Linked DNA regions of Homo sapiens: all the other regions are linked to region 1. Evidence: promoter capture Hi-C in 16 types of primary human blood cells and fetal thymus (Javierre and others, 2016). All regions are on one chromosome and are shown on one strand. The core of a region is centred on a gene start or on the middle of the fragment in contact, and the rest is flanking DNA. Distances in the headings are between cores, read along the strand shown.

Region 1 (3,533 bases), core at 691-3,190:
AAGCCTTAATCTTAAAAAACACATTAAATGCCATATTCTTAATTTACTACAAACTCAAAAACGTCACTATTAAAAGGAGTTACAAGATGTACTCTTAACTAAAGTGACTGAATCCCTAACTCTTTAGTAAGTGCATCTTGTCAACAGTTGTTCTTGTGTGTTGTTCTTACACACATGTATTTCAGAAAATAAGGAGGCAGGCTACTACAAACATTAATCCACTAGCTTTTTTTTTGTCGCTCAGGCTGGAGTGCAGTGGCACAATCTCTGCTCGCCACAACCTCCGCCTCCCGGGTTCAAACGATTCTCCTGCCTCAGCCTCCCGAGGAGCTGGGATCTCAGGTGCACGCCTCAAAGCCCAGCTAATTTTTTTATTTTTAATAGACATGGGGTTTCACCATGTTGGCCAGGCTGGTCTGGAACTCCTGGCCTCAAGTGATCTGCCTGCCTTGGCCTCCCAAAGTGCTGGGATTACAGGCATGAGCCACCGTTACCGGCCTCCACAGGCACTGAATAAAAATTATGTTTCCAAATAGGAGTTCATTGACCTTAGGGAAAATTTTTCATAAAAATAACTGTAGAATGAATTTTTTGCAAATTTATTTTTAAAAACGGTACCCCAAGCCAATGATTTTGTGGTTCCGTTTTCAATATCCTCGTTAAATTTCCCTACTGATAACAGACTCTCTCTGTGAAGATTTTTAAATTACAATGAAAATTAGAATACATAAAAATCCTTTAATATCCATAAGCATTTGCTTTGGTATGTTCATGATCAAATTAAAAATTAACTTTGAGACCTCACAGGTCGACAGCACAAGCTTCATTAACAAGAGTAACACACCATCCTAATGTCCACACAGCACAGAGGTAACTTCTCATTATTAAAAAGAACCATGGACGCATGGTTCTGAACCCTGCCTGCACTTGGCGGGAACCTGCGACACGAAAGCCTGGCCAGCCCTTGGAGCCATGCAGGGTGCGGTTAAGCCGCGAACACCATGTCCCACTTGCCTGCCTCGGGGCTTCTGCCTTCCAGACCGCAGCAGGAGGCAGAGGGGCAGGAAAGGCTGACCGGTGTCACCTTCCACCCACCCTCTGAGTGGGCCTAAGTGGGAAAGCAGCAGGGCTCACTGCAGCGCAGGCTGGTTGGCCAGCACATGCGCACGCTCCCCCGAACGGCAGGGAAGAAAAATTGAAACTCTCCTTTTAAGTTCCCTAAGTAGGAACTCGCGACTGCGCGTCAGCTTTTTCCCACGCTCCCGCCGAGCCGCGGGTTCCCTGCACCCGCCTCTGCCAGTCGAACTCCCTGGGAGCCCAGGCTCGCAGCCTCCCGCGCAGCCGCCGGGAATCCGTCCCGCAGCACCGCGGTCCAGCGCCCCCGGGCCCCGCCCCACCCCTCCCCGCCCCGCCCGCGCCCCAGGCCCCGCCCCGCCTCACCGTCTCACCATCCCCGCCTTCCCCGCCTTCCCCGCCTTCCCCGCCTTCCCCGCCTTCCCCGCCTTCCCCGCCTTCCCCGCCTTCCCCGCCTTCCCGGGATCGCCCGGCGCGTTCCAGCGCCCCCGCGCCCTCTCCACCTCCCGCTTTCCACGCGGCCCTCAGGCCCGCCTCCTCCGCCCTACCTTGGTCCGGATCTGCCCCGAGGTAGACACTTTGCGGATCAGTTTCTGGGGTCCCTCTTGCTCCGCTTCGCTGTCAGACGAATCCTCTCCCGGCCCCGCCGAGGCAGCGGCGGAGGTGACCGCGGCGCCGGCTCCGGCGGCCGCTCCTCCAGCGGCGCCCGGAGGGTGGTGCTGGCCTCCGGCCCCTGCCATCCTCTCCGACTCCTGCGGGGACACAGCACCGCCCGGCGGGGGCGGCGGCGTTGGTCAGCGGGTGGGCTCTGCCCGAGCGGAGCCCGGAACCCCGTGCCCGGCCGCCGCCGCCATCTTCCGTTTCCCTAGCTACCCCCGCGAGGTAAGGGTCGCCCGGGGCAGGCGCCCTCCAGGCAGGGGTCCACCCGGCTCCTCCGCTCGGTTCCCGCCGGAGCGGCGGCCACGGTGGGACGCAGAGGTAACGGACCCCCGCCCGCCTCGGACCCCTGCGCACCCAGCCTCGGATAGGACCAGCGCGGGTAGAGAGGATGGGGTGACAGGGTTTGGAGCAACATCTCTTCCACTCCCTTACGGTCTGGGTCCCTAGGATGGACAGGAGGGTGGGGGAGGCAGGAAACCTCTGCAGCCCACCCCGTAGTGGCGATGCCCGCACACCCCCTCTCACTTCTGGACAGCAGGGGCAACGCCGATCCCTGGGGAAGAATGGGAACCTGGAGCTTCCTCCCAGCACCCTTGGGTGCACCCGCCACCTCCTGAACCCCGAATCTCTCCAGAGACACTTGGGCCTCGCCGCGCGGTTCCAGCTGAATAAAAGTCCCCTCTGCCACCAAGACAGTCGGGGGCTGCCCCTCGTCGGTTTCCCCACCCCCAGCCCCACTCCGAGGACCGTACCTCTCCCGCCTCCGCCAGGGCCGTCGGGTCCCCTCAGCTCTCCTGACGGCGGCGTTCAGTTTCTGGCCCACCCCCACCCCCATCCGGCGCACACGGAAGAGAAGAGCATTTTCCGGGAGGTTCAGCTCCGCTCTGAGAACTTTTCGTTCAGAAAGAGCGATCCCCTTCGGCTAACAGGAAACTGGGAAGGGCGTGGAGAAAGCGCAGAAACAAGAGACTACACGCAGCCCAAGACGACAGAACGCACAAGAAGTGTCTAAGCTGAAGCGCTAACCGAGATTGCCTGGAAGAAAACAATACACTCGAGCCATGCGAACACCAGTACCCGAGACAAAAAGCCTTGGAAGTCCTGGCAGAGCCACTCCCTAGCCCGGACTAGAGCAGGAGGAAGTGGGATCAACAGGCTGTAGCCACCGCGCACAACTCCCCTGCAAGCTGGCTGCGCGGGCACTTGGGAACCGCGGACTGGCAGCGGGTTGTGCACGCTCAACGTCAAAGAAGCCTCACAGGTGTGAGGGGGCTGCGGTGAGGGGGCTGCGAGAGAAGACATTAAAACGACAGATCCCTCTTGTCATCCAAAGAGAACACCAAACTGGTGTTAGCTATATTTTTAAATAGGACAAAAAGTCCCTGCCAGACTGTGGAGTCTCTCCACCTGGAGAAAGCATTCAATCTCTGTTATGTTCATGCCTTTCAGTACCATTCCTTTCGTATTTTTTCAGTTGACATGACCTTTAAGGTTCCTCCAAACTAAGGTTCTAATTTTTTTTTTTAACTTGCAGTCTTACTCCCAACAAGAAATTTGATATATTAGAGCTAACAGTTCTAAGAAGTTTTAAGAAATAGTATGCAATCCCAATACTGGACATCACACTGTAAATTAAATTCATTAAAATGTAAAATGTGTTTAGTTCAAATATTTAAAGACAGGAGACTGCTGCTATGTAATAATAACAGAGAGGCTATTTCTGCAGCTTCTGTTGTCTCCTTTAGGAAAGGAAGGAGTTGGGCAAAATGAATTTTAAGAACGCTTAGAACTCTACAAAT
Region 2 (3,571 bases), core at 656-3,155, 560 kb after region 1:
CAAAGTCCTGGAGAATGGAAAGCAAAAAAGGCCTGCATGACGAGGCTGACCAGGCGAGGGGACAAGGCCAAGATGTATCCCACAGACACTGTGTCGTGGCCAGCCTACCTGGGCTGTGGAAGGGGTGGGAGTTTTCTCATTCATTCAATGGACATGGACTGAGTGCTTACTATGTACCAGGCACCATGCTCGCTGCCAGAGATGTGGTGGCAAGCCACAAGGCTCCTGTCTTTGTGGGGCTTATGGTCCAGTTACAGGAGGGTAGGGAGACATTAACCAAAACATCACACTACTGAACATGCCATTGCAAACCAAGATGAGTGCACTGAAGGAAGGTTCTACAAGAACACAGCACCAACAAACAATCTAGACGGATCTGGAAGACTCTGAGAAAGTGATGCTTGAGCTGATCCTAAAGAAGTAGAATTAACTAGAAAAACCGAGCAGAGTGGACATTCCAGGCAGAGGGAACTGAGTGTGCAAAGGCCCTGCAATGGAGCCACCTAACGCTGCCATTGTGGATAGTCATACTCCTTAACCTTCAGTAGACCCTGAACTTGAAGGAAAATGTTCCCTTCTAAAAATGTGTTTCCCTTTCCCTTTCCCTTCCATTCACCCCAGCACTTGATACCAAGCCATGAAGAGAAGGTGAGTTGTGCAGGAGAAAGCCTTAAAAAAAAACAAAACTTGCAGACAGCAGCTATGACAGCCGTTTCCTGTTTGGTGTCTGTCACTGCAAACCTTCTTAGTCAAATAAATTAACACAGGAAGGCATTTTGGAGAAGTACGTGCTTCTTGCACATACTGAAAATTCAAGAAAAATTCCATCTATTTTTCAGAGAAGAGCTGGCAGTCTGAGGATAAGGCCAGAGCCCACCAACTGTATGAACTGAACAGACCCCAGGCCATTTAGTCCGATTAACTTGGAGGAATCTGAGGCCCAGAGAGGGGAAGGGATCCAGTTCACAGCAGGACTGGGGCTTTCACCCTCTCTCCTGCCCCTTTGCCCAGTGTTTTTTCTCTGCCTTCCTCGCTGTGATTGCATTAGGCCAGATTTGCCACTTTCTTCTATCAGACAAGGAATAATGGGGCTAGAACTGCCCTCTGCAGCCACTGTAGGCAAAGCTTAATTTTACCTTGGGTACAGGAGCCCAATGTCCTTGTGGTATGAAAAGGAGGAGGAGGAGTGCCAGACACTTTTTCTTTTCTATATTTGATCATTGCAATGACCCTAGGAGACAGTGACTCACACCTACACTTTACAAATGAGGAAACAGAGCCTCTGAGAGGTTAAAGAGCTTGCTCAAGGTCACCCAGCTACTACAAGGCAGAGCTGGGATTTGAACCCTGTCTAGCCTGAAAGCTCATACTTTCTCCTCCTTTCCTCAGCCCAGACCCAGGGGGATGTTCCCATGGAGAAGCCTCCTCAGGATTCCCAACCTTGACTAATTGCCAATGGCCGCCCTTCTACTGCTCCTCATTTCAGACATGCCTCTCACATGTGGAACATGCAATGTAGCCTACCTCTGTCATGATCCCCCAGGGAAAAGGTATTCATTGGTTCTTCTGTCCCATTCTGGAGGCTGGCTGGTGTATAAATATTTGGGCTGGCACTAGAGCCTCTTACTCTTGGGTGTGTGCAGTATTTGTCATTTTGTTTTGCTCTAACTGTTCCTCCCTGAAATTAGAACAGAGAATTTCCAAACTCAAAAACATACCAGCTTTGCATGCACAATATTCTACCAGCTTCCCATATACAATATCCAGTCTCGTTCTGTTCCAGAAAAGCCCACTAGCTGACACTCTCCAAATAATAATCAGGCAGTTTGCAAGGCCATGGTCTCAGCACTCAGATCTTGGAGGAAGGGGAGTGCAATAGACCCCGCTGACTTGAGGTTACCTATAAAAGCATTTCCCAAGGCATGTTCCAAGGAACACTAATGACTCTGGATTATTGGTAGCTTTTTCATCAACAAACAAAACAAAAACCAAAAACAGACCAAATCTCTTAGCTGCAGGATTTCTCAAAGCCTTCAATATGCTGTGGCAGAGATAACTAGTTGTTCTCCAATAGTCATTCTCTTCCTCTTTCTTTAATAATAAAACTCTTAAATTTTAGCTGAACACATATATGCCAGCTAGATGCTTTTTCCTGGCCTCCCTTTCAGCTGGGAATGAGGATGTAAGATCTGAATAAGGGGATGTGAGCAGAAGTGAGGTGTCTCTTCTAGTCATGTTGTTTAAAGAAATAAGCCTATGTTTGACTTGCCATTTCTCCTTTCTGCTGGCTGGGATGTAAATGTGATGACAAGAGCAGGAGCAGCCACTTTGGACCAGAAAGCCACCTACTCAGCCTTGTACTAATCATCTCTGGATTGTTAGAAAGAAACTTCCATCTTGTTTGAGCCACTGTATCTTGGGGTCTTTGATCCAGAACTTAGACTGGCCCCTAAGTAATATAAGCACTAATATGCATAATGAATCTCCAAGTGGAGCCTATAGCATGCAGCATTTCTCAAGCACATATGACCTTAACAGCAATTTTTGCAAAACGAGTTAGGACTGTTCTCCTTGAAACATATCTTGGGAAACTCTGAAAATACTTTTTTCAACATTCCCAGAACTCCAAACTGTGACTGAGTCCACAGCCCATTTGCCCTTAAGTCATTATCCAAAAGAAGCTTATGGAGTACAAACTACCCGCGCCCCCTCCCCCACTCCACACACACACACACACACACACACACACACACACACACACACTCTCTCTCTCTCTCTCTCTCTCTCACACACACACACTTATGTAAAGAGATCCATTTCTTTTCCCAAAACCACTGACTTTCTCTTCACAACAAGCCACAAAGCTTCACACCTTACACTTCTGACTTGGGGAGTCCAGATCCCAGGAGCTCGTGAAGAAACAGCAGCCAAACACAGTTAGATCTTCCATTCCAGAAGAGACTAATAATAAAAGTTACAGTGAAAATGAACAGCTGCTGGTGCCATGATGAAAAAAAAATTGCCCAAAGCAGATACAGGTTCCCAAGCATGAATAAGAACCAGATCCAGGTAATGGAAAAATTAAGTTTTGAAAACAAGTCAAGAGCTTATTTGGCTAACAAAGAAAATATTCCCACAACTAACATATTTGATGGTGAAAGTCTGAAAGTTTTTCCTCTAAGATCAGGAACAGAATGAGGATGTGTCACCTCACCACTTCTTTTTAATACTGTACTGGAAGTTCTAACTAGGTTAAGAAGGGAAGAGGAAGAAATAAAAGGCATTCAGACTGTAAAAGAAGAAGTAAAATTATTCCTATTCACAAATAATATGATGTGTATAGAATCCACACATCCACCCTCGCAAAAAAAAAACTTATTAGAATTAATATCGAATTAATAAATATGTACAGCAAGGGTACAGAATACAACATCAGTATACAAAAATAAATGGTATTTCTATGCTAGCAATGAAAAATCTGAAAATAAAGTTAAGAAAACTCTTCCATTTAAAATAGCATCAAAAAAGGAATGAATTTAACCAAAAGTATGCAAAAATTATACTGTGAAAA
Region 3 (3,519 bases), core at 987-3,486, 580 kb after region 1:
TACTGGACAGTTTTATTAATTAACACCTGCTGGCTACAAATGGCTAATTGTTCTTAGCCTTTTAAGTCAATTTGCCACTAGGGGCTTTTTTTCCCTCTTTAATTCCTACCTCTTGAGGATCAGGTAACAAATCTGAGCACGTTTTAAGCCACTTTTTAGACTGCTCTGTCTCTGAATTCAACTGATTCATTACAGACTGAGGGCTGGATAGTGGCAGAATTCCCAGTGGGTGCTAACGTTGCTATGTTGAGAAGGGAACTTTCAAATGCCTCTTCTGAAAAAAGAGTGAAGTCCTGTCTTATTGCCAAAGTGAAAAGAGTGATGGAATTGTCATTTCTTTTTAACTATGTTCCATTTTTATTGCATTCTGCAACTATTTTCAGCAAGTATAACTTTTCTTAAGAAAAAAAGCTCCTTTTGTTTTCAAAAAGGCACTTGTCCAATGTAACAGAACATTCAACTCTCTAGCTGGAGACATTTTACCAGTTCCAAAAAATAAGAAACTGCTCATGCATCTTTAAAGACATTTTAGGTCTATTAATACCACAGTAGAGACAGGCTGGAGCTGCTATTTTAAATCATGTTAGATCATAGCTTATCTAATAATGACAACCCCATTTAATTGCTAAATTGGTCATCTGAAAGCATTGGTTAAATAATTAATGCAATAAAAAGAATCCCACTATCTGCAAAGGCAAACTGCTGAGTTTTAAATTCTAGAACCAACAAGTCTGGGAGGAGACTCCTAAGAAACACTGTCATTTGCACAGTCTTGATTACATCACATGAGAGAGAACAGTCTAGTCTCCAAATTTTCTTTCTCCCTGTGACTTCAGGTTTTCTGCCCCAAATTATCTGATTTCATGTTCACACTGATTAAAATCCTGAGAAATAAAAAATTCCACTGTATACTCTACAGTATTAAGACATTAGTCTTACCTATTTGTTTTGTACATTTGAGAAAGATTGTTTAGGGATAAAAGGGACAGAGAAGGGATTGAGAAGGAGAGAGGAATAAAAAAGCAAAAAACTCAAATTCCAACTAATGACCTTACCTTTCTGAGGAGTGACAGTGGCAGAGAGAAGAGCTGGGGTAGAGTCTGTTGGAGAATTCAGTTTTTCATCACTGAAGCTGAAGCTGTTCCTATAAAGTGAATCTGCACCTTTCAGGAAGGAAAATATACTCATTAGAAATAGTACTCATGAGATTATAGACTTAGCACTTTATAGTCTATTGATAACCAACAATTTGTCTTCAAAATAAGCCAAAGCTGCAACTCTATAGTAAAGAAAACAGCCAGGCATGGGGTGGCTCACGGCTGTAATCTCAGCACTTTGGGAAGCTGAAGCAGGTGGATCACCAGAGATGAGGAGTTCAAGACCAGCCTGGCCAACATGGTGAAACCCCATCTCTACTAAAAATACAAAAATTAGCCAGGCATAGTGGTGTGTGTCTGTAGCCCCAGCTACTTGGGAGGCTGAGGCAGGAGACTCGCTTGAATCTGGGAGGTGGAGTTTGCAGTGAGCCAAGATCACACCACTGCACTCCAGCCTGGGTGACAGAGTGAGACTCTGTCTCAAAAAAAAAGATTAGAAAACAGGTTGATTTCCAGGTTTTATGTTTATGCCCCCAAAATGATTCGAGACAGGGGAGAGAGGGAGTGTGTGTGTGTGAGAGAGAAAGTGTGTGTGTGTGTTTGTGTGAAAGTGTGTGTGTGTGCATGAGTGTGTGAGTGTGGGTGTGTGTGAGAATATGTGTGTGTGAGAAAGTGTGTGAGTGTATGAGTGTGTGTGAGTGTGTGTGTGAGAAAGTGTGTGAGAGTGTGTGCGTGTGTGAGTGTGGAGTGTGTGTGAGAAAATGAGAGTGTGTGTGTGAGAGCATGTGAGTGTGAGAGTGTGAGTGAGAAGTGAGAGAGTGTGTGTGTGTCAAATCAAGTATACCAAAGGCCCTTGCTTCCCCAATACAGGAAGGGGGTGATAGGATCATCATGACCAGTGCTTGGTTGATGGTGGGAGTGTGGGGGTAAGGATTTTAGGCAAAAGGAATCATCTCAAGTGAAATATGTCCCTTCTGCCCTCTGAGCCTCCTAAAATACAAACATCCAGTATCCCATGACTTAAGCCTCTTTCCCTGCTCAAGAGAGATCTTTGCTCTCTTGCTGTCCTATAATTTAATAATCCTCTCTTTTACTTAAGAGAGGTTTTCCTAAGAGTCTGTACTCTTCAGATAAGCCAGAAGGTCAAAGATAAAGACATCTTCTCCTGGAAGTTCATCTATTAGACACTTGGAGTGACATCATGGCTCCCTCTATTCTCATACCTCCAAAGACTTGAACCACAGCAAGATGAGGCCCCAGAAGTTCAAGGCTGAACTGGGAGTCAAGGGGACCATCCAGTCAACTACTAAGTACTAGGGTGCCTTTGAGCTAGTACATCTCTGGGCCTAGCTTACTTATCAATAGAATGGGAAGGCGGACTAAATAATCCTTAAAGGCACTTCTAGCTCTAAAGTTCTGAGATTCTCTAAGTCCTGCTAAGGGGAAGGAAACCAACGCACGGTTGGCCCAGCTGTGTGGCTGTGACTCAGAAAGGGGCTGCTGGCTGAGCAGCACTGACTCAAAGGGTGCAAAGGCAAGGCAGGCAGCAGAAGCAGGATGTGGCCCCTGAGGTCACGGGGAACAGCCTTCCTGGTTAAAACAAAACACAAAGCCAGCCACAGTTGGAGCAGAGAAGTGGCTCTTCAGGTGTGAGAGGGCAGCTGAATGATGGGGGCCTTACCAGGTCCCCGCCTCCTCGGGATTCTTCCACTTTAAGCCAACTACCTCCAGCTTAGGGGGAGGCAAAAACATCTCTCTTTGGTCCCATTAACTGAAAAGGAATTTGCCTAAGTGACAAGAGATAGGCCCAGTACAAAAAGTATCAGAGTTTTCGGAAGAAGAGGTTTCTAGTCTCAGGGAAATTCAGCTTTGTCCCTAAGAGGCTGCCACAACTTCTCAGGTGCCTCACCTGGCTCCCTTTCCCCCCACCCTCTCCTGCCCAGGGGCCCACCTGCCCCCTGCTCTTTTTCGCTGACACCGCCATCTTGTCCACTTTTCCAAACATGCCCAGAAGACCCTTGAGAGCAACCCTCACAATCTTTGCTTCCTTCAGAGGTCCAGCCCAGCTCACCTGAAATGACCACCATCACTGGGCTTTGAGGATGAACATGGACTGAGATCCAAAATCCTGGACCTGATACCTACACTTCCCCAAAAATACATTCCTCAGAGTGCTGGTCCTCCGAGGGCTGTGTGATCAGGTACACCTGAGAAACACCAAACAGCCTTGCTCATTCCCATGGGTATGCCCACTTCCAACATCCTGAAAAGACTTGCGGTTAAACAAAACCAGCCCCATTTCCCCAGTGTACCTGACCACGGGACACTTCTTTGTGGTGCTCCTGCTACTACTTCTCAGGACCCTTGGACTCCGTGGAACCTTACTTGGGAAGCCCTCCTGCTGGCTCCCTCAACCGAGCCC

Evidence for each region. Contacts are between HindIII fragments. The CHiCAGO score rates a contact against its expected background, and 5 or more counts as called.
Region 2: a contact is called between a fragment that was not itself captured here and the fragment with the promoter of DGKH in region 1, in 2 of 17 cell types (M0 macrophages and fetal thymus). The highest score is 5.3, in M0 macrophages.
Region 3: a contact is called between a fragment that was not itself captured here and the fragment with the promoter of DGKH in region 1, in 2 of 17 cell types (fetal thymus and M1 macrophages). The highest score is 7.7, in fetal thymus.

The regions. Positions count from the first base shown.
Region 1 is chr13:42,047,055-42,050,587 of GRCh38, reverse strand. DGKH (diacylglycerol kinase eta) reads right to left here and starts at 1,940. Exons shown (of 30, transcript NM_178009.5): 1 at 1,623-1,940. The coding sequence starts at 1,814. RefSeq lists a silencer at 1,634-2,163 and an enhancer at 2,704-2,793. The HindIII fragment of the contact is 8,345 bases long and covers 824-3,533 here.
Region 2 is chr13:41,490,229-41,493,799 of GRCh38, reverse strand. No RefSeq gene overlaps it. Among named protein-coding and RNA genes, the nearest start is that of RGCC, 34 kb to the right of the region's middle. The HindIII fragment of the contact is 1,556 bases long and covers 1,128-2,683 here.
Region 3 is chr13:41,464,467-41,467,985 of GRCh38, reverse strand. RGCC (regulator of cell cycle) reads right to left here. Exons shown (of 5, transcript NM_014059.3): 3 at 1,056-1,163. Among named protein-coding and RNA genes, the nearest start is that of RGCC, 8.7 kb to the right of the region's middle. RefSeq lists an enhancer at 2,515-2,774 and a silencer at 3,268-3,482. The HindIII fragment of the contact is 7,241 bases long and covers 1-3,519 here.